Regions from separate parts of the Homo sapiens genome. Here all the other regions are linked to region 3. The links are contacts of gene promoters, found by promoter capture Hi-C in blood cells and fetal thymus (Javierre and others, 2016). All regions are on one chromosome and are shown on one strand. The core of a region is centred on a gene start or on the middle of the fragment in contact, and the rest is flanking DNA. Distances in the headings are between cores, read along the strand shown.

The links. The method cuts DNA at HindIII sites, captures the fragments that hold promoters and counts their contacts. A CHiCAGO score of 5 or more calls a contact.
Region 1: a fragment that was not itself captured here is called in contact with the fragment with the promoter of NIFK in region 3 in 2 of 17 cell types (non-activated CD4 T cells and total CD4 T cells); the score reaches 14.1 in non-activated CD4 T cells.
Region 2: a fragment that was not itself captured here is called in contact with the fragment with the promoter of NIFK in region 3 in 2 of 17 cell types (total CD4 T cells and naive CD4 T cells); the score reaches 5.7 in total CD4 T cells.
Region 4: the fragment with the promoter of INSIG2 here is called in contact with the fragment with the promoter of NIFK in region 3 in 1 of 17 cell types (neutrophils); the score reaches 7.2 in neutrophils.
Region 5: a fragment that was not itself captured here is called in contact with the fragment with the promoter of NIFK in region 3 in 3 of 17 cell types (naive CD8 T cells, non-activated CD4 T cells and activated CD4 T cells); the score reaches 6.6 in naive CD8 T cells.

What each region holds. Positions count from the first base shown.
Region 1 is chr2:117,817,283-117,820,723 of GRCh38, reverse strand. It overlaps DDX18 (DEAD-box helicase 18), which reads right to left. Exons shown (of 14, transcript NM_006773.4): 2 at 2,996-3,280; 3 at 932-1,075. Among named protein-coding and RNA genes, the nearest start is that of DDX18, 4.3 kb to the right of the region's middle. RefSeq lists silencers at 11-80, 91-140. The HindIII fragment of the contact is 4,634 bases long and covers 1-3,441 here.
Region 2 is chr2:118,005,271-118,008,941 of GRCh38, reverse strand. CCDC93 (CCC complex scaffolding subunit CCDC93) reads left to right here. Exons shown (of 24, transcript NM_019044.5): 2 at 284-397; 3 at 2,126-2,220. Among named protein-coding and RNA genes, the nearest start is that of CCDC93, 7.0 kb to the left of the region's middle. The HindIII fragment of the contact is 2,915 bases long and covers 616-3,530 here.
Region 3 is chr2:121,734,574-121,738,166 of GRCh38, reverse strand. It overlaps NIFK (nucleolar protein interacting with the FHA domain of MKI67), which reads left to right and starts at 1,292. Exons shown (of 7, transcript NM_032390.5): 1 at 1,292-1,421; 2 at 2,417-2,554. The coding sequence starts at 1,317. RefSeq lists a silencer at 806-1,255 and an enhancer at 1,356-1,405. The HindIII fragment of the contact is 3,379 bases long and covers 1-1,592 here.
Region 4 is chr2:118,086,984-118,090,453 of GRCh38, reverse strand. It overlaps INSIG2 (insulin induced gene 2), which reads right to left and starts at 1,983. Exons shown (of 6, transcript NM_016133.4): 1 at 1,913-1,983. It overlaps LOC107985940 (a long non-coding RNA gene), which reads left to right and starts at 2,023. Exons shown (of 3, transcript XR_001739662.3): 1 at 2,023-2,203. RefSeq lists enhancers at 2,029-2,218, 2,229-2,278. The HindIII fragment of the contact is 7,859 bases long and covers 1-3,470 here.
Region 5 is chr2:126,663,981-126,667,656 of GRCh38, reverse strand. The region is part of intron 1 of GYPC (glycophorin C (Gerbich blood group)); the gene reads right to left. Among named protein-coding and RNA genes, the nearest start is that of GYPC, 9.7 kb to the right of the region's middle. RefSeq lists a silencer at 982-1,031 and an enhancer at 2,956-3,115. The HindIII fragment of the contact is 7,282 bases long and covers 1-3,676 here.

The DNA of each region.
Region 1 (3,441 bases), core at 724-3,223, 3.9 Mb after region 3:
CAGCCACAGAATGTTAGGCTGAGCCTACGTATCAAGTAATACAGTGGTGGTTCAGCAGAAGGCATCAAAATCACCTGGGGGTTCCCCATACTCCACATGCCCAGGGTGTAAACCAATCACTCTTGACCTTGGCATTGCTGACATCTGGGCTGAATAATTCTTTGCTGTGAAACACTATCCTGTGCCTTATAAGATATTATGCAGTGTTTCTGACCTCTACTCACCAGATCCCAGCAGACTGCTCCTAGCTCTGAGAACCAAAAATGTCTCCTAGGCTTAGGATGACCAATCTTCTCAGTAGGCTAGGGACAGAGGAGATTCTTGGGATTCAGAACTTTCAGTGCTAAAACTGTTAAAGTTCTGGGCAAACCAGGAAGAGTTACTCTTCTTACTCGGGGGGCGAATTTCCCTGCTCGAGAGCTACTACCAAAACGTTTGCAATTTGGATTAAGCAGGTCTAGGGTTGGGCCTCAACATTTTAACAAACCAACCAACCCAAACCAAATAAACAACTCAAGTAACTCCTAGACATATCTGGTTAGGAGCAGTGAATTCTAGCCTAAACTCAACTTTATAAAGGAACAAAGGCCAAAGGAGGTTAACCTCGTACAGGGCCAATCATTTTCCTATTACAACATAGAATGAGACTCAGAAAAGGACAAACCAAGGAATCCTAGAAGCTGCTAGTGTGCATATAAAATATTTGGTGTCAGGAATGAACAAAAGGAAAAAAACAGGGAACAAAAAGAACTAAAACACCACAAAATAGAAGATAAAGAGAAAAAGCAGCAGAAAGATATAAAAAAAGTTTCTTGTTGATAGTTACTTTTTTCAGGTAAACTGAAAGTCACAACTGAACCTTCAAACCTATAATCCTCTAAGAGAGGCACATTTTAAAGAAGTTACCTCTAGAAAACTTCCTGGACGTTACCTGTCAGTCCCAGGGGCAGACTGGGCACCTCACTCTCATCTTCATCATTATCTGGCTTCTCCACATTATTTTCTGTTTCTTTAGTAGTCTCGGCACTTTCTTCTTCAGATTTCCCTTTGTTTTCAGTTTTTGCTTTTTTCGTATCTTTGGTTTTAAAAGACAAAATCCGAAAAAATTTTTCCTTAAAATAGAATTCCAAATGAGATCAACAAACAGAAGATCTCTGATATAAAGACGTATATTTTCAAAAGCTAAGTATATGCTGTATTAATTTGTTAAGAATTCTGTTTGGTGAAAAATGAGTGGTTGTATTTAAAAACCCAGGGTACAGACAGACTTGGTGACAAAACCTTTTAGGCTTTTGTTCAACTAAACAGTATAAACATACCAATTATAAGTTTCACATACTCCACTGAGGGGAAAGGAAGCATACCTGATTAACATAATCCTTAAAAACTCATTATAAGTAGTCATTTTTCTTCCCACGCCAATCACTATCAAAGGCTCTTCATGTTACTAGAGATAGACTGTAAAGGAAGGGCAACAACCCACTTGCCTGGCTGACATACACTGGACTGTGCCTTGGCTATCAGGGATGAGGGTGGGAGGAAAGGCAGGGCTTCTTCCCACCCTCATTTCTACATTCACAACTTTCATGTGGCCCCAACTACCTTTTCAGTCCTACCTCTCACTTCTCTTTTCAATGTTCGACTCTGGGTCAAATGGATTAACCACATGCTGTGTTTATATAAAACTATATGGCAATTAGTGATGTTTGAAAAGAACTTAGACCACAACCCAGGACTCTCTGTAGCTCAGTACTGGTCTCCTCCCTGTACCTGACGGCCACCCTTCCAGGAAAGAGTCAACTTTGTAGGACCTACATGTTCAAAAGCCACAGATATCTTCAGCTGGTCTCCATGGCTTATTTTGTTTTCCCTGGAATAGTTCCTAAAATGTACCCATAAGGTGGTTGGGTGTGGTGGCTTCTGCCTGTAATCCCAGCACTTTGGGAAGCCGAGGTGGGAGGATCACTTGAGCCCAGGAGTTCAAGACCAGCTTGGACAACACAGTGAGACCCCATCTCATAATAAAACAAACAAACAAACAAACAAACAAAAAACCCATAAGGTTAAAACGCCCAGCATTGTGATTCAATGCTTGGGAGCAGAAATAATACCACTTCCTGGGGCATACTCAAAACAAGAATTGTGAAGGCAATAATTTTAGAACAGGATTACAATGACTTCTGTGTGTAGGCATCATGAAGACAGTAATGCATGTTTGGAAAAGTTCAAAGTCCCTTTCTAAATAAAACCCTTATTTCAGGTAAAATACATGAATAGGATGTTCCAACTCAGGGGCTGGCAAACTTTCCGCAAAGGGCCAGATAGTAAATAGTTTAGGCTTTGCAGGTCATATGATCTCTGTTGCCATAAACACAACCAAATAGGCATTGCTATGACCCAGTAAAACTTTATTTACAAAAACAGGTAGAAGGAGGGATAGTTTGCTGACCCCTATCTTATCCTACCTTGATATCTCTGCTTATACAAATCTCAATTATAATGTCCATTCTTTCATCCGAGCTTACTGAAATTCCATCATCTTCAAAAAACATTCCTTCCTTTTCCTCCTGCCATTCTTAGCACTTGGAAATTAATGTTCCATTTATTCAGAAGTTTCCTACTTTATATACTTTGTAACTAATATTCCTTTCAAAGGGAGGAATTTATGGAAGGAAAATGGGAAGAATCAAGCAGGAAAAAAGGTAACTTAAAAAGAAGAGAAAATTTCTAGAATTCTAAGGAGAGTCTTTTCTGAGAGAGGTTTTCTTCAAGGTTAGTGAAATTAAAAATATATTCCTCAATATTTTGAGAAAAGTTGAAATGGACTCCCCGCTTCTGCCAATAAAATGTTTCCATTAGCTACCAGGCTAATCTCTAACATACTGGTGAGTACAGGGAATTCTCATGTCATGTGCACACAATAGTAATAGAAAGAGGAACAATAACCGTCTGTGAAAAACTAAATGGCTGAAGTTCAAAGATAATAAATACCTACCAGGCTCAGCATCATTCACCATTTTTCTCTTTTTCTTCTTTTTCTTTTTTGATTCTGAATTGGAAGACTGCATTGCTGCTTCTCCATTGGTTAATACAGTGGATTTCTGGGGAGACTTTGTAACTTTTATATTTCCCACTGCTTCTTGAGACATGCCTCCATTTTGAGTTTCTGATAAGCCCACATTCATGGGCTTTTGTTTTGATTTTTTAACCTTTCTACTTCCCATTGTTTCTTCAGATACATCTCCATTTTGAGTTTCCGATAGGGTCAGATTTGAGGCCCCTGTTTAAATAAACAGAACATATACTGTGACAAAGAAGGAGAAGTTTACTTAGAAACACTGAAATCCCAAATGAGAACTTCCATGGCTTCCTGACACAAATTATTTAGATTTTCTTCTCTTTCATGTAATTAAAACAACTTATAGTTTTATGGTGTTCCCT
Region 2 (3,671 bases), core at 824-3,323, 3.7 Mb after region 3:
GGATTCCTTCAGCATGTGATGAGTAGTATATACTACTTGGGCATGTGTCTCCCTCAGCTATGAAGATTAACAGCCCGTTGAGGACCGCGGACCCATTTGTGACTCCAACAACACTGTCCACATACTTCTGTGTGACACTTGCTGAATTTTCAGAGAATCTATTGTGGTGATGTAGCCAATGTCATCTACTCCTTGGCAATGAGCTTGTGGCATCAGGGGATATACCTGGTGTTCCTTTATTCAGCATATCTTTTACCAGCCAAAGTTTTACCTTTTATTTTAGGTGGAAACAAGAGAAGATGAAGAACAAAATGTCAAGTTGACTGAAATTCTGGAGCTCTTGGTTGCAGCTGGGTATTTCAGGGCAAGAATTAAAGGCTTATCACCCTTTGACAAGGTAAGGGGAAATCTTTCTAACCATTACACTATCTTTTGTCAGAATGACATGGTTAATCATGGCAAAGAAAGGAGGAAAAGATGATGTTTTAACTTCTTCCATGTCTGTGTTTCCATTTCTTCCTAATTCAGATTCATTATGGAAGTGTTCAAACTTCTTTTCAAAGACAGAAATGATGTATCAGTGAATACGTCAGTTCCTTTTCTGTGCACAAAGCTTTAGGAAATGCAAAGAAGCAAAATAAATAGTTCCTTCTTTCAAGGAATTTACAGTTTGGGTGGGGATTATAAAACTTATGGAAAATAAAATAATCAGAGTTAATAATGAGCTATCCCAAGTCAGCGTGCTCACAGACGGTTGCCAGATATTCTGCGGATAGTAAATGCTCTGATTTAGGATGAGAGAGAGATCGCTATGCAATGAAATCTTTTAATTCAGCAGAACCTTGAATGATGATGCACAAATCATAGTAATAGGTGTTGAGGACACAGAGAAAAAACAGAGGCACAGTTCTCAAAGAGCCCAATTTCTGTAGAGTGGGGATGAGAGACAAGTGAATCAACATGCACAGAATAAATGGCATGATGCAGAAAGTGCCACCGTGGACTGTGCACAGAAAGGACGCATTCAAATCACACAGGGCAGGCTGTGGAAGACAGTGCTGAGTGCTCCACGGGGTCACAGTCCTGGCTGTGCCTAACAGAATCACTCTGGGTTATTTTATAATACAGAACCCAGGATTCACTCATTGAAATTTTGGTTAGCTAGGTCTGGGCTTGGGCCCTGGAATCTGCATTTTTATTGGGCAACTTGTAAGAGTCTAAAGCAGCCAGGGGTAAGATTTACTGTTTTTGTTGTTGTTGTTTGTTTGTTTGTTTGAGATGGAGTCTCTCTGCTGCCCAGGCTGGAGTGCAATGGCTCAATCTTGGCTCACTGCAACCTCTGCCTCCGGGATGCAAGTGATTCTCCTGCCTCAGCCTCCCGAGTAGCTGGGATTACAGGTGCCTGCCACCATGCCCGACTAATTTTTGCATCTTTAGTAGAGAGGGGTTTCACTGCGTTGGCCAGGCTGGTCTCAAACTCCTGACCTCGTGATCCACCCGCCTCAGCCTCCCAAAGTGCTGGGATTACAGGCGTGAGCCACCGCGCCCAGCCTTATTGTTATTTTTTTCTAATATCAAGCTGTGTCTGAAAAGGATTTTGTTTCAAAATGGGTTTTTAGTCTTACTCTCATTTGCATCTCAGAGAATTCCTGAGGGAAAAGTAGAGCCAGGGATTCTCAGGTAGATAAGAAAAATAAGATGTATGGAAACAAAATGTCAGCCTTGCTGCCCATGTGTCTGGTCTATAAAACACAGAATTAATGTCTGTCCTTTTGACTATAAAGAGGATCTATGTACAGTATGTTCATTTAATAATAAAAGTCAGCTCCTCAGTCATGCCAGCCACATTTCAACTGCTCAGCAGCCACATGTGGCTAGTAGCTACTGTACTTGTCCTTGCAGATAACGGAATATTTCTGTCACTGCAGAAAGTTTTCTGTAACGGTGCCATTTTAGATTAATTGTACTTGATGGGGTAAGGAGGACACACACTCTCTCTCTCAAGATATATAATTTTGTATGTTTACTGAGTCTATTAGAGCTATTTATAATCCATCTACCTTCCACTTCTTCCATTCTCCCCAAACTAAAAAGAGAAAACAAATATTTTCTTTATGTCTTGCAGGTAGTAGGAGGAATGACTTGGTGTATCACCACTTGCAACTTTGATGTAGATGTTGATTTGCTCTTTCAAGAAAACTCTACGATAGGTCAAAAAATGTAAGTTTTTCTATGGAAAACCTAAAGGTGGGGAGAAGGGAACTAACTTTTGAGTGTCTACTGTGTGCCAGAAGTTGGTTGGACACTTTACATAGTTTATTTTAACTTTTATTACAAGAGGTATTATCCCTGCCTTACAAATGAAACTGAGACTGAAAGAAGCCAAGGTCACACAGCTAGATCAAAGTTTGTAGTGACTACTTAGTTTATCTTTCAAAGACAGCTCATATCAGTGGAAGTTGATTAGAAAGAGGAAAGGAGATGCTTTCCTTCCCCATTGCCTCTGTGTAAGGCAGAGTCTCACTTTGCCTGTCTTCGAGAGAAAGCAGCATGGTCTCCTTGCTAGAGATCTCACCTGAGCATACCCTGCCCAGTCTTTTGTAGCACAGCAGCTCACCAGGGGCTTGGCCATTTCATTAGACCACTTGGGATACCTGGTTCTTCTCCCAGCCTTCCAGTGGGTCTCTGTGTGGCCTTGGAACAGCCACTCCTTCTGTGGGCCTCAGTTCTTTTATCCGTCAGAAGAGAGATTCCTGACCTCAGATATGTGTGATTCTGTGACAGTCTGTTTATTCATTTTTCTGAAGTATTACCTTCTCCCAAGAGAAAACACTTCCAAAAGGAACAAAGGGGTCTTATAAATAACAGGAAGCAATAATGGTGGGAAAATGGAGCAAAGGGGGAAAAAAAAGTGGGGACAAAAGGCAGAGTTGGGGTAAGACTGCCACAGTGATGGGTCACAAAATGCTTTGTTTTCCTACTGTTGGCCAAAGATTTGCCCCTGTGTTTCTGGCAGCCAAGTGGAGGTGGTATCTGTGAGTAACTGAGCATCAGGAATGTTGCAATTTACTTTATATTTATACAGCATTTTCCCTGTAAGTTTCTAATTGCCTTTGTTTTTTTCTTGTTGACAAAAGAAGCATATGCCTTTAGCTGTAGCTCAGATCAGCCAGCTTTTTTTTTTTTTTTGAGACAGAGTCTCACTCTTATCACCCATGCTGGAGTGCAGTGGTGCCAACACCACTCACTGCAGCCTCGACTTCCTTAAGTGATCCTCTTACCTCAGCTTCCTGTGTAGCTAGAGCCACAGGCATACACCACCACGCCCAGCTAATTTTTAAATTTTTTGTAGGGATGGTGTCTCACCATCTTGTCCAGGCTGGTCTTAAAACTCCTGGGCTCAGGCAATCCTCTCGCCTTGGCCTCCTGGGATTAGAGGTGTGAGCCACCGCACCTGGCCTATGCTTCTTAATCAGGCTGTTCATTAGCATGAATTCTTTGTCTTCTTGAGGATGCTTTTCTTGGAAGCTTCTGTCTTTGAGCTGATTGCTTCCTATACCTGTGGCACTCTTGATGTGCTGGTATTTCTTTTCATTGCATTTTTTCTGTGCTAGTTTTACCATTTCTTGGATCCCACGTGTGCTTTTTTCCTAAATTCCCCTTGAGTTTTC
Region 3 (3,593 bases), core at 43-2,542:
ACCCGCCCATCCCCTCGCATTTACAAAACCCCAGTTTCATACTTTGACACACAGTCATGGGGCTCCAGCCTGCCGCCTCGCAGCTCTTCCCTCCTGTGCTGGGCTCCAACCCCACTGCCGCGTCCTTCTTTCTAGACCTAGGAACACTGTGCAGGCCTGTCCGGTCCAGCGGACGGCAGGCGCTCGGTTCTCCACACCCCGCTCTTTAGCCTTCAGGCCTCGGTGCTAACGCCACCTCCTAAGGGGGACCCTCCGGCGCCACCCAGTGTGCCTCTCCCCCACAAGCCTCTTTGGTCTCTTAAAGCAGCCATGCTGCCCTCAGGCTGTAAGTTCTCCAAGGGCCGCGGACGGACGGGGCCACACAGGAGAGCTCACACACAAGTGAGTGAAAGAATAACCAAATTAGGGCCGGGCGCGGTGGCTCACGCCTGTTATCCCAGTACTTTGGGAGGCTGAGGCGGGTGGATCACCTGAGGTCAGGAGTTCGAGACCAGCCTGGCCAACATGGTGAAACCCCGTTTCTACTAAACATACAAATTAAGCTGGGAGTGGTAACGTACAAATTAAGCTGGGAGTGGTGGCGGGCGCCTGTAATCAGCTACTCGGAAGACTGAGGCAGGAGAATCGCTTGAACCCGGGAGGCGGAAGTTGGAAGTTGCAGTGAGCCGAGATTGCGCCATTGCACTCCAGCCTGGGCAACCAAAGCGAAACTCTGTCTCAAAAAAAAATAATAATAATAATAAGCAAATTGAGGAATGAGAGCAGCATCTCAAGGACACAGGTACTGTTTTGGAATTTATTTTAGACCTTTTTTGAAAGTAGGCGTGAACGTAATTGTTTCAGGCACTCTTAAGCGAAGCCAGCCGGCGCCCCGACAGCCGAGGGTGCGGGAGCTCCCCACGGCCCAGCCCCAGCCCCAGACCCCGCTGCCGCGCCTCGGCACGCCCCTGCGCCCCGCCTCCGCGCCTCGGCGCTACTCACGCCCCGCCCTCCGCTCCTCGTCACGCCCCATGTCGCGCCTCCGCGCGACTCACGCCTCTCCCAGTCTCTCGGCACGACCTCGTGCCCCGCCCTCGCCCCTGGCGCAATTTATGCCCCGCCCCGCGCCTCGCCACACCCCGTGCCCCGCCCCCGCTTCTCCGGGCAACTCCTGCTCCAACCCCGCGCCCGACTCATGGCCCTCCCCGCCCCTCGCCACGCCTCGCCTCGCCTTAGCGCTTCGCCCCGCCCCTGTCCTGCCTCTACTTCCGCCTCGGGGGAGCTGGGAGCCCGACGTTTCCGGGAGCGCCGCGTGGTTAGCGTCGGCGGCTTTTGGCATGGCGACTTTTTCTGGCCCGGCTGGGCCAATCCTGTCGCTTAATCCGCAGGAAGATGTCGAGTTTCAAAAGGAGGTGGCGCAGGTTCGCAAGCGCATAACCCAGGTGAGCAGGCACCCTGGCCCAGGCTGCGAGCGGGGGCGATGGACCGGGTCTAGAGGGTATCTGGGGTTGCACGGTTTCCGGCCCGGGCGCCCCTTGCCTTCGTGCTCGCCTTCATTACCTCCAGGGTCTCCCAAGTGGATTCGACCGAATCAGGGACCGACCTCTTAAGCTTGCAGGCCACGGTTTCCGAGACGAAAGGGTTTACGCTGTTCGGTAAATGATGGAGGGGTTTGGCCGCTGAGGCCCTGGAGCCTTCATGTGGAGGGTAACGGGGAAGTATTGGGGTGACAGAAGCAGTAGAAAGAACCAGCTGGAGGGAATAGGCTCCTATACCACAGGTTATCTCCGGGTTAGAGCTGTCACGCTTCCGCGTTTCCCCCAAAAATGGGAGCCCCAGACTTAACACATTCGGGAAGTTTGTATGCCGGGTTGGTGATCTGGGAGTTATTAAAATAGAGTATTTGCCAGGTTCCACTTGCTGACTAGGGCCCCTGACATCGCTTATACTTTCTGTGGTTTTTAGCATAAAATACACAGGAAAACTTAGAAGTTCCTGTTACAGAGGTAAGGCTATGATGACTGAGACGTTGAAAGGCTAATCTGTACCGTGAGAGTTAACAAGCGTATCGAAAATTTTTCGATGAAGTGCGAGTAAACAGTAATATGCATACCAAATTGAAGCCTACGTTTATGTAGAGTTCTCTGGGCAGAAGATCTAAAATGGCTTGTTCAAAGATGTCCTTGCTTATCCGTTGATTGACATAGTTATTGAGCTCTAATATTATACTGGGTGCTGGGATGCCAGGCTGGAAAGATAGTTGACTACTGCTTGACCATGGCCTTTGTGGGGAGAGAAACACTAAACAGCCAGTTCTTTAATTACTACTGTGGTAAGTGGAAATGCAGAATAGGTTCTTGGGCCGAGGGCTAGGGGTTTTGTTACAATGTGATTTTCTTATTTATATATTTAATTTACCTGGTCTTTACGTCTTTAGCGAAAAAAACAAGAACAACTTACTCCTGGAGTAGTCTATGTGCGCCACCTACCTAACCTACTTGACGAAACCCAGATCTTTTCATATTTCTCCCAGTTTGGCACTGTGACACGGTTCAGGCTGTCCAGAAGTAAAAGGGTAAGATTTTTGCAGTTGGATTTAATGTTTTGTTTTTCAAATGTGTATTATCCTTGACATTAAAGAGCACGTTCACGCATACATTATTGCTTATCAGATTTCATTCCAAAAAGGAGAGTGGAGGAGGTTTAGAATCTGAAACAGCTACAGGAGCAAAATCAGTATTATTGTAAAAGTTTGTTTTTTACATTTCTCCAAATCCTTACATTAAATTGACAGTCCTGGTAAATGAGCTTTAGTATGAGGCCCAGGTTTATACATTTTCTTGTGTTAGCCTTTGGTACAAGCATCCTTATAATAGCAAAGGTTTATATAGTGAATAGTTAAAGGTGAGGACTCTGGAGTTGGACTGCTGAGGTTTGGGGTCAGGCTCTACACCTTACTAGTTAGAGTGATATGACCTTACCATGTTTCAGTGTTGTGATCTGTTAAATATAAGTAAAACTTCCTGGGAGTATTTAGTCAAAGGTTAAATATAAAGTCTTTAGAGGATTGCTTGGTACACAATAAACACTATATAAGTATAATTACTATTTGTGTCATACCTGCCTTCTAATGAGAAAACGCTTTACATAGCTTGTTTCAATAGTGGAGGAGTGACCCACTTTCTTTTCTTTCCCCGCACATAAACTTTAATTGGTTGTAGCCATAGACACCTATTTGATTTAGCATGTGGGGGATAGGGTGCACATCCATCATCTGTTAGTTGTCGTAAAGATAGATTGTAGGTAGAATTGAGGTCCCTTTTGTACCCTTCCCAGTGCTCTTCAACTTCTTTAATTAGGGAATTAAATTCACAAATTCAGTTTTCTTTTTTTTGAGACTGAGGCTTGCACTGTCGCCCGGGCTGGAGTGCAGTGGTACAATCTCAGCTCACTGCAACCTCCGCTTCCCGGGTTCAAGCAATTCTCCTTGCGTCACCTTCCCAAGTAGCTGGGATTACAGGCGCCTGCCACCATGCCTGGCTAATTTTTTGTGTGTTTTACTAGAGACGGGGTTTCACTATGTTGGCCAGGCTGGTCTCGAACTCCTGACCTTG
Region 4 (3,470 bases), core at 734-3,233, 3.6 Mb after region 3:
GTGATTATGAGCTTCGTGAATAAAAATCAAGGTTCATGTTGGCCACTGAAACAACTTAGAGGCAACAAGCATTTGAAAACAAACACACATACAAAATCTTCTAGTAACCTTAAGAACCTGTTGCATTGTAACAACTGCAACACCCCCTAAAACCAAATGACAAGACCATTCCTCTTCCAATGATTAGCCGTAAAAGAAGTATTTTTACTCCCTCAGATAACCCTGTTTCTTCAGGTGCTTAGGTCACGTAAGCTACTAAATAATAAAGTTAAATTACTACCTCACATATTTTTCATCATATGCTCTCTTAATTAGAATAGCATTCTTGAAATAGAATAAGCACTAACATTAGAAAAAAACAGACTTAAATCAATGCAACAGTTTAATGCTCCCTAAATAAAAACACATCTACATGTATCATGGGCTAGAGACGTTAAAAATTTCTAGGAAGAAAAGCAATATTTGCCTTATAAACACTGCAACTCTTTCCTCTCAACATTAAAACCCAAACATAGAAACCAGTAAGTTAGCTGCATTTACAGCCCCTTACAGGTTTTAAATGTCACATCTCAGTGCCTAAAAAAGTTACTCCATCGTTTCGAGATAAGTTTCTGAGAACAAAGAAAACTCTTTAAACTACTGAACTGCATTTTATTCTTTCCTTTTCCGTGTGACCATCTGCAAAAGCAACAGTTGTCAGTTAAACAGAATCAACCTCTTTCCCGAGTGGACATGATTCACAGCTTGGTCACTGTACAGCAGATGTGAACTGAGAACTACGACATAACACAATGACAAAACACAGTACTGAGCACAAAGTACAGGGAAAGAATGAAAGACAGAAAACAGGAAGAGCACACGTCTGATTTTTGTTTTCTTTGGGGCCCCCATTAGTAGCATTCCCTTCATCCATCTTCATTCAGTGGTTCACTATCAGGGCCAAACCCAAAAGTTACAAAACACCATCTAGCTACTGTCTGGCTGCTTTTATTTTTTCTGCACCAGGACGGGAGCACGCATTCCCCTGCAGTCCTCAGCTCCACCGCAATACTGATACCAAACAGTTTCAGTGGCCCAGCTGCCAAGCCTAACCATTCCTTTTTAAAGCATTTCTTCATCAATCCTACAAAACAGCAAGTTCTTCATGGTATATTTTCCTAGAGCATCTAGCTAATATCATACTTTAACAACTTTTTCCAACGTTAACTGGACATGGGTCATTATCACTTAAGTGTTAGCGCCATTGCCCGCGCCCACTCCCATAATCCACACTGCTTTCCTTCTCCATATTGCCAATCCCCACTAAGCAACCCTAAAATCTAGTAATTATCATCAAATCCACTTCTAGGCCCTGGCAAGAATTATTTGGCTTTACCGAAACACCTATTCCATAGGTAACCAATTCCAGTCAAAAATGCCAGAGTATTACTCCTCAACCCAATGCCCTATCTCCTTAGTGGATTATAAACTTACTACGACAACCTGTCTTCTTTGGATCCAATCCCCGCCCAAGTCTGAGTCTTCTCTCCCAGGCTACAAGCCCCCAAGTCCTGGCAGCTCTATGCTTGACAGCTCGCTGACCTCCACCTCATCAGACCATTGGGTCGCCCTTCTCGCCGTCCTCCAGCCTTCTTCCCGCTCAGACACTCATCCACTGTCCGGGGAGCCTCGACCCCTCCTATACCCCCTCCCCGATCCCGCAGTCCCCTTCTGGACCTTGCGGACCCCTCTCAGGTAAGCGGAGCCCCTTGCCCTGCAGGCCCATCAGTGGTCCTGGCTCCCCGCACCTGCCACCAGGGTTCCCAGGCTGCAAAAACACAAGTAGTTCTTCTTCCCAAGGGCCACCCTCCTCCTCAGGCCGCTTTCCTCAGCACCACGTCACCCGCGCTTCGCCGGGAGACCCCCAACTCACCCCCGCCTCCGCCATCTTCTGGGACCAGCCCCCGTACCCCCTACCGCCTCTTCCTCCTCCACTCCCACAACTCCGCCCGAGCTCCACTGCGCCTGTGCGGCCAACGAGGCCGCGCGCAGGCGATCGGGGCAGAAGAGCTTCCGGTTCCTGCTGTCAATAAGACGTGGACCTGCGAGCCGGGGCAAAAGGGCTTCCGGTCTGCGGGAAACTGGAGGCTAGCGGTGGGCGTGGACCGTCGAGGTGACTGGCGGTTGTCGGATCTGCTGTTGTTTGCTGACCAGGCAGCCGTAGGTAATGACGGATGCCCAGACCCTGTGGGCGGAGTAAAGGAATCATGCACTGATACACGCACACTCACCGAGGGGCGCGTCCGTCTGCGTGCCCCTCATCTCGTAGCCGAAAGGAGCGCGTTCCGGGGCAGGCCTCCGGGTACTTCCCGCAGAGGACCGGGCTTTATACTCTTTGCTCCTTTTCCTCCCCTAGTAAGTCATAACTTATTTTGGGAGAAGGGCATAGTTATTTGTCTCTCGTCTCCATGCTACAGCACTTTATGTGCTTTTCATTCAAAATCGTTCCTCGAGGACGACCAAGTAATGTGATTTGGGGGACAGTTTTCATAGGAAGGGCTTTATAAGTTTACACCAACATAAAGAAAACTTAAAAACCTTATAACCGCTTATTTTTCAGAAGTATTATTTTTCATTTAATCTAAAACCATACTTTTAGAACATGAAACCAAGCCAAACAGATCTTTGCAGATTGTGCAAGCGAACTTTTTTTTTTGAATGAAAGTGGTGCCATCAATGCAAAAGCAAGCCCATATAAGTGCCGAAAGGTACTCGTCATAAGGAGGAGTTGCTTCCCTATTCTGAATTTTTATTTATTTTTATTTATTTATTTATTTGAGACGGAGTCTCTCTCTGTCACCCAGGCTGGAGTGCACTGGCATGATCTCGGCTCACTGCAACCTCTGCCTCCCGGGTTCAAGTGATTCTTCTGCCTCAGCCTCCCCAGTAGCTGGGACTACAGGTACATGCCACCATGTCTGCCTACTTTTTGTATTTTTAGTAGAGATGGAGTTTCATCATATTGGCCAGGCTGGTCTCAAACTCCTGACCTCGTGATTCGCCCGCCTCATCCTCCCAAAGTGCTGGGATTACAGGCGTGAGCTGCCCCCTGAATTTGTTTTTTTTAAGCAACTCTTTTTAAAAAGAGAGAAAAAATAATCTCTCTTGAGTGTATTAGTTATTGAGCTATTCCATTTGGAGGTGGCTTAACCCAAAACGTGTATGGATGTGGTAAGATTACAATGGACTTGAATGTTCTAGATGAAATCTGGGCCGAGAGTAATTGCATAATAGTTTTCCAAAGGACTGTCAGATGGTAAACTCCTTTCATTTACTTTGAACTGATAAACGATAAGATGGATTTTTGTTTTTTGACCTTTTTATCTACATTTACTTCTGAAAATTGAAAAAGAATCTGAATTCCAACAAAATGTTTCTAGGCAAGTATTTGCATGATGCTTCTCTAACATTTCCTATATCTTAGTGTTTTC
Region 5 (3,676 bases), core at 395-2,894, 4.9 Mb before region 3:
CCAAGGCGGGCGGATCACCTGAGGTCGGGAGTTTGAGACCAGCCTGACCAACATGGAGAAACCCCGTCTCTACTAAAAATATAAAATTAGCCAGGCGTGGTGGTGCATGCCTGTAATCCCAGCTACTCGGGAGGCTAAGGCAGGAGAATTGCTTGAACCTGGGAGGAAGAGGTTGTGGTGAGCCGATATCATGCCACTGCACCCCAGCCTGTGCAACAAGAGCGAGACTCCATCTCCAAAAAAAAAAAAAAGAAAAAAAAAAGATATCCAGATCATGTGATAGGCAATGCATGTAGGAGTCATGTCTGGAAACTGACCCAAATATTTAACTGCTGGGGTATGATTGGGGAAGGTTGTTTCTGTTTTCTTTACTGATACACTCCAGAGGGATTCATTGCAGAAGGGTATGGGAGACTTAGTGCTGAACCCAAACCAAAAATAAGCAAAACAGCCTTGCTGAATTCTCTAAATCCACGTATCTCTAAATCCTCTGTCTCTAAATCCTCTGTCTGCTAGGTGGGGTCTGATGGCTACAATGACCTTGAGTGACAAGCAGACAGAAGAGGCTATGAGGAGATATTCTACATGGCAGATGCTCTACACTGAGCAAAGAAGTGGGAACAGAGTCCTAAAAATAGTGGAGTAGAAAAAGTTTCAAAAGCATGTGGCACCTAACACCCAAGGCCAAAAGATGTTGTAGGCAGCAGTTCTTACATTTGTTTCTAGTTATCTCTGGGAGGTCAGTAGGATCCATGCACCAAATGCCTGTCTGCCCTGTCCCGAACCAGATCCCCAAGTGTCTGCCTCAGGTCTGGGGCTGATACCTGTCTGCTGCTAAGAAACGCAAGGAGATGGTGTGTAGGAAGAAATGTGTGTGTGCTTGTGTGTGTGCGTGCATATGTGTGTGTGTGTGTGTGTGTGTGTGTGTGTGTGTGTGTGTGTGTGTGTAGGGAGGGAGGGGAGGGGGGCAGGAGAATGGAAGGCCAGCATCACAGTTTCTTACTTGCAATGACTCTTCAGCCTCAGCCCCTCCCACTTAAGAATGATGAATGAGTTTCAGTGGCCTGAACAGTACACTCACAAAGGAGACAGGGACCGAGGACTGGTCCAGTCTGGCTCCTCTATTGCAACCTGGTTGTGTAAATTCTGCCAAGTCACTGAACTTTCCTGAGGTCTGCTTTATTTACCTGCAAAAGAGGGAGACTAGTATGTCTCGAATGAAGAGTGGAAACAGATTTGAAAGTGCCTAGCAAAGTGTAACAGAAATTGCAGTCATGCAGTGACAATGATCCTCCGGCTGGCTTGTTGTACTTTAACACAGAATAAAGTTGCCAGCCCAGGGGTGGTTCCACGGTGGAGGCATTCCAGGAATTGGCCAGGAGTTGGTGGGGGCATTATTCTCTCCCAGTGCCCCTGTAGTGACCTTGGGAGGCAGCTGCCCACTCCTTCCCCGGGGGAAGAGTGGGTTGGCCTGGGCTGGCAGGACTGTCACAACCCAGCCCTTGTGTACCACTCTGAGCACTGCATTCGCAGCTGCTGGGACACAGGTGGGTGCCTGCGGAGGACGGCAGAGGGAACACAAGTGGTTCCGGGTGTGGGGGGAACAAAGAAAGGCCTTTTCTTCAGAGGCCAGGAGAGCGACCTCAGGGCTGTAACGATCTGAGCAGAAGGGCAAGGGGTCATGGGCAGCCCCCTCCCAGCAGGGCAGGCTGCAGAGTCCCAGAGCTGGAGGAAGACACACCTGGCTTCCAGGAGAGAGCGTGTCAGTGATGCACAGGGAAGCACTGGGGAAATCACCTCTTTGAGCCTCACTTTTTGTCTTCCTAAACTGGAATTAATAATATCTGCATCTGTGTGATGCCTTCAGCATTAAAGGAGGCACTGTGTGTGTTACACGTCCTCACTAGGTGCGGAGCAGGGCAGAGTGGGCGCTTGCCAGGGCGTGCACAGCCCCAGGCACCTGTGCCGAGTCTGCTGTAGTGCTTTGCCCTGCGTCGGCATCCCTTGGGCCCCCATCTGAGGTGATCAATGCACCCAGAGGGTCTCCAGGGCTCCCTTCTGGGCCCCTCACAGGGTGGCCTCTTTACACTGATGTCCTCCAGCCTTATCTGTGCCCTAATCTCCCTTCGAGCTGCCACTGGGTGATCATCTATCTGTCCCATGAATCGGTGGTTCCCCCTTACCTATGGGGGATGCTTTCCAAGACCCCCAGCGGATGCCTGAAACCAGAGATACGACTGAACCTTACATACATGATAGTTTTCCTATATGCGAATAACTATGATAAAGTTTATTTTATAAATTAGACACAGTAAGATATTAACAACAATGAATAATGAAGTAAAACAATTGTAACAACGTACTCTATAAAAGTTATATGAACTAGTCTCTCTCTCTCTCTCAGTATCTTACTGTACTGTACCTTAGGTAACTGAAAGCTCAGATCAGGGCAAGAGATTGTATCTCAAAGTCACCCTCTTCCCCATAGAGATTCTTCCTACATCCTTCCTCTTGATCTTGTTCCTACAATTCTACAATGAACATGAATTGCTTCTGCAATAATGAAATAGGGCAAAGACAACTTATTTTTAAACTTGTAAGTGAAGAGTAGCCTATTCTTCTGACTTAAAAGGCCAAAAGAGTAAGAGAAAGATAGAGACAGAAAATGAGAGAGACACAGAGAGAGAGAGAGAGAGAGAGAGAGAAAGACAGCAAGTAGTGCATGACCTGAGCCTCCCTAGCATCTACTCCAGCTGTGTTAGTGAAGTCCCACAGGGAGAGGTAGAGGCTGCCCCTGCAGATGCCCAGCCCAGGGAGTCCTCCCGTGACAGACAGAACTGCTAAGGAACCAGGACTGCCAACGTAGAGGAGGATCAGAGCCCTGGGAGCAAGGGGCAGATTCAGGCAGGGAGAGCAGAGGCAGTGGGCTTCAGCCCCTCAACCTCCAATGGGCTGAGCTCAGGTCACAGGGTGACTTCCATGGGCCAAGGTGCTTTACCTTATGGGTCCCTTCTCCTCCCAAATATTAGAAATCATATTGTATAGCTGCACTGGTATAAAGGCAAATGTACTATTTGATCTTAGAGGTTCATTTCCTTCCTTCTGATTTTAAAAGAAGCTCTAATACTGTTGTGGGCCTCTAGAAGCACTGTGGTCTCTGAGCACTGCGTCTGGGGTCAGGCCCTGGCTGAGCTTTCAATGTAGAGGGGGAAGAGAAGGAGGTGTGAGGGGCTGGTAGGTTCTCTGGAAGTCACATCCACTTGCTAGTTTCGGTATCATCACATGCAAAATGGAGATAAAAATACCTCCCTGGGGCTGCCAGAGGGCTAAATGAGATGGCGTCTGTGGAGTGGAGCCTCATCTCTACTCTCTGAGACAGGGCTACTGTCACCAGATGAGGAGGATGGCTCAGGATAGTGTAAAGAATCAGTGACAAAGAAAAAAAAAAGACTATGAAAATTTTTTAAAAAGGGAATACTCAGGATTTTCAACCATAACTGAAATTAATTTCGCTAAAATGAGAAGTTTTGCCGAAGTTGAAGGAAAGGGATTAATATGACAAATCCATCCAGGGCATGATCAAGCAAGGCCTGGCTCCCCTCCCAGGAGTTTGGGACCTGGAAAAGCTGGAAAAGGCTGAGAAGGAGCTTTCTCCAGAGAGAGAGAGAGAGAGAGA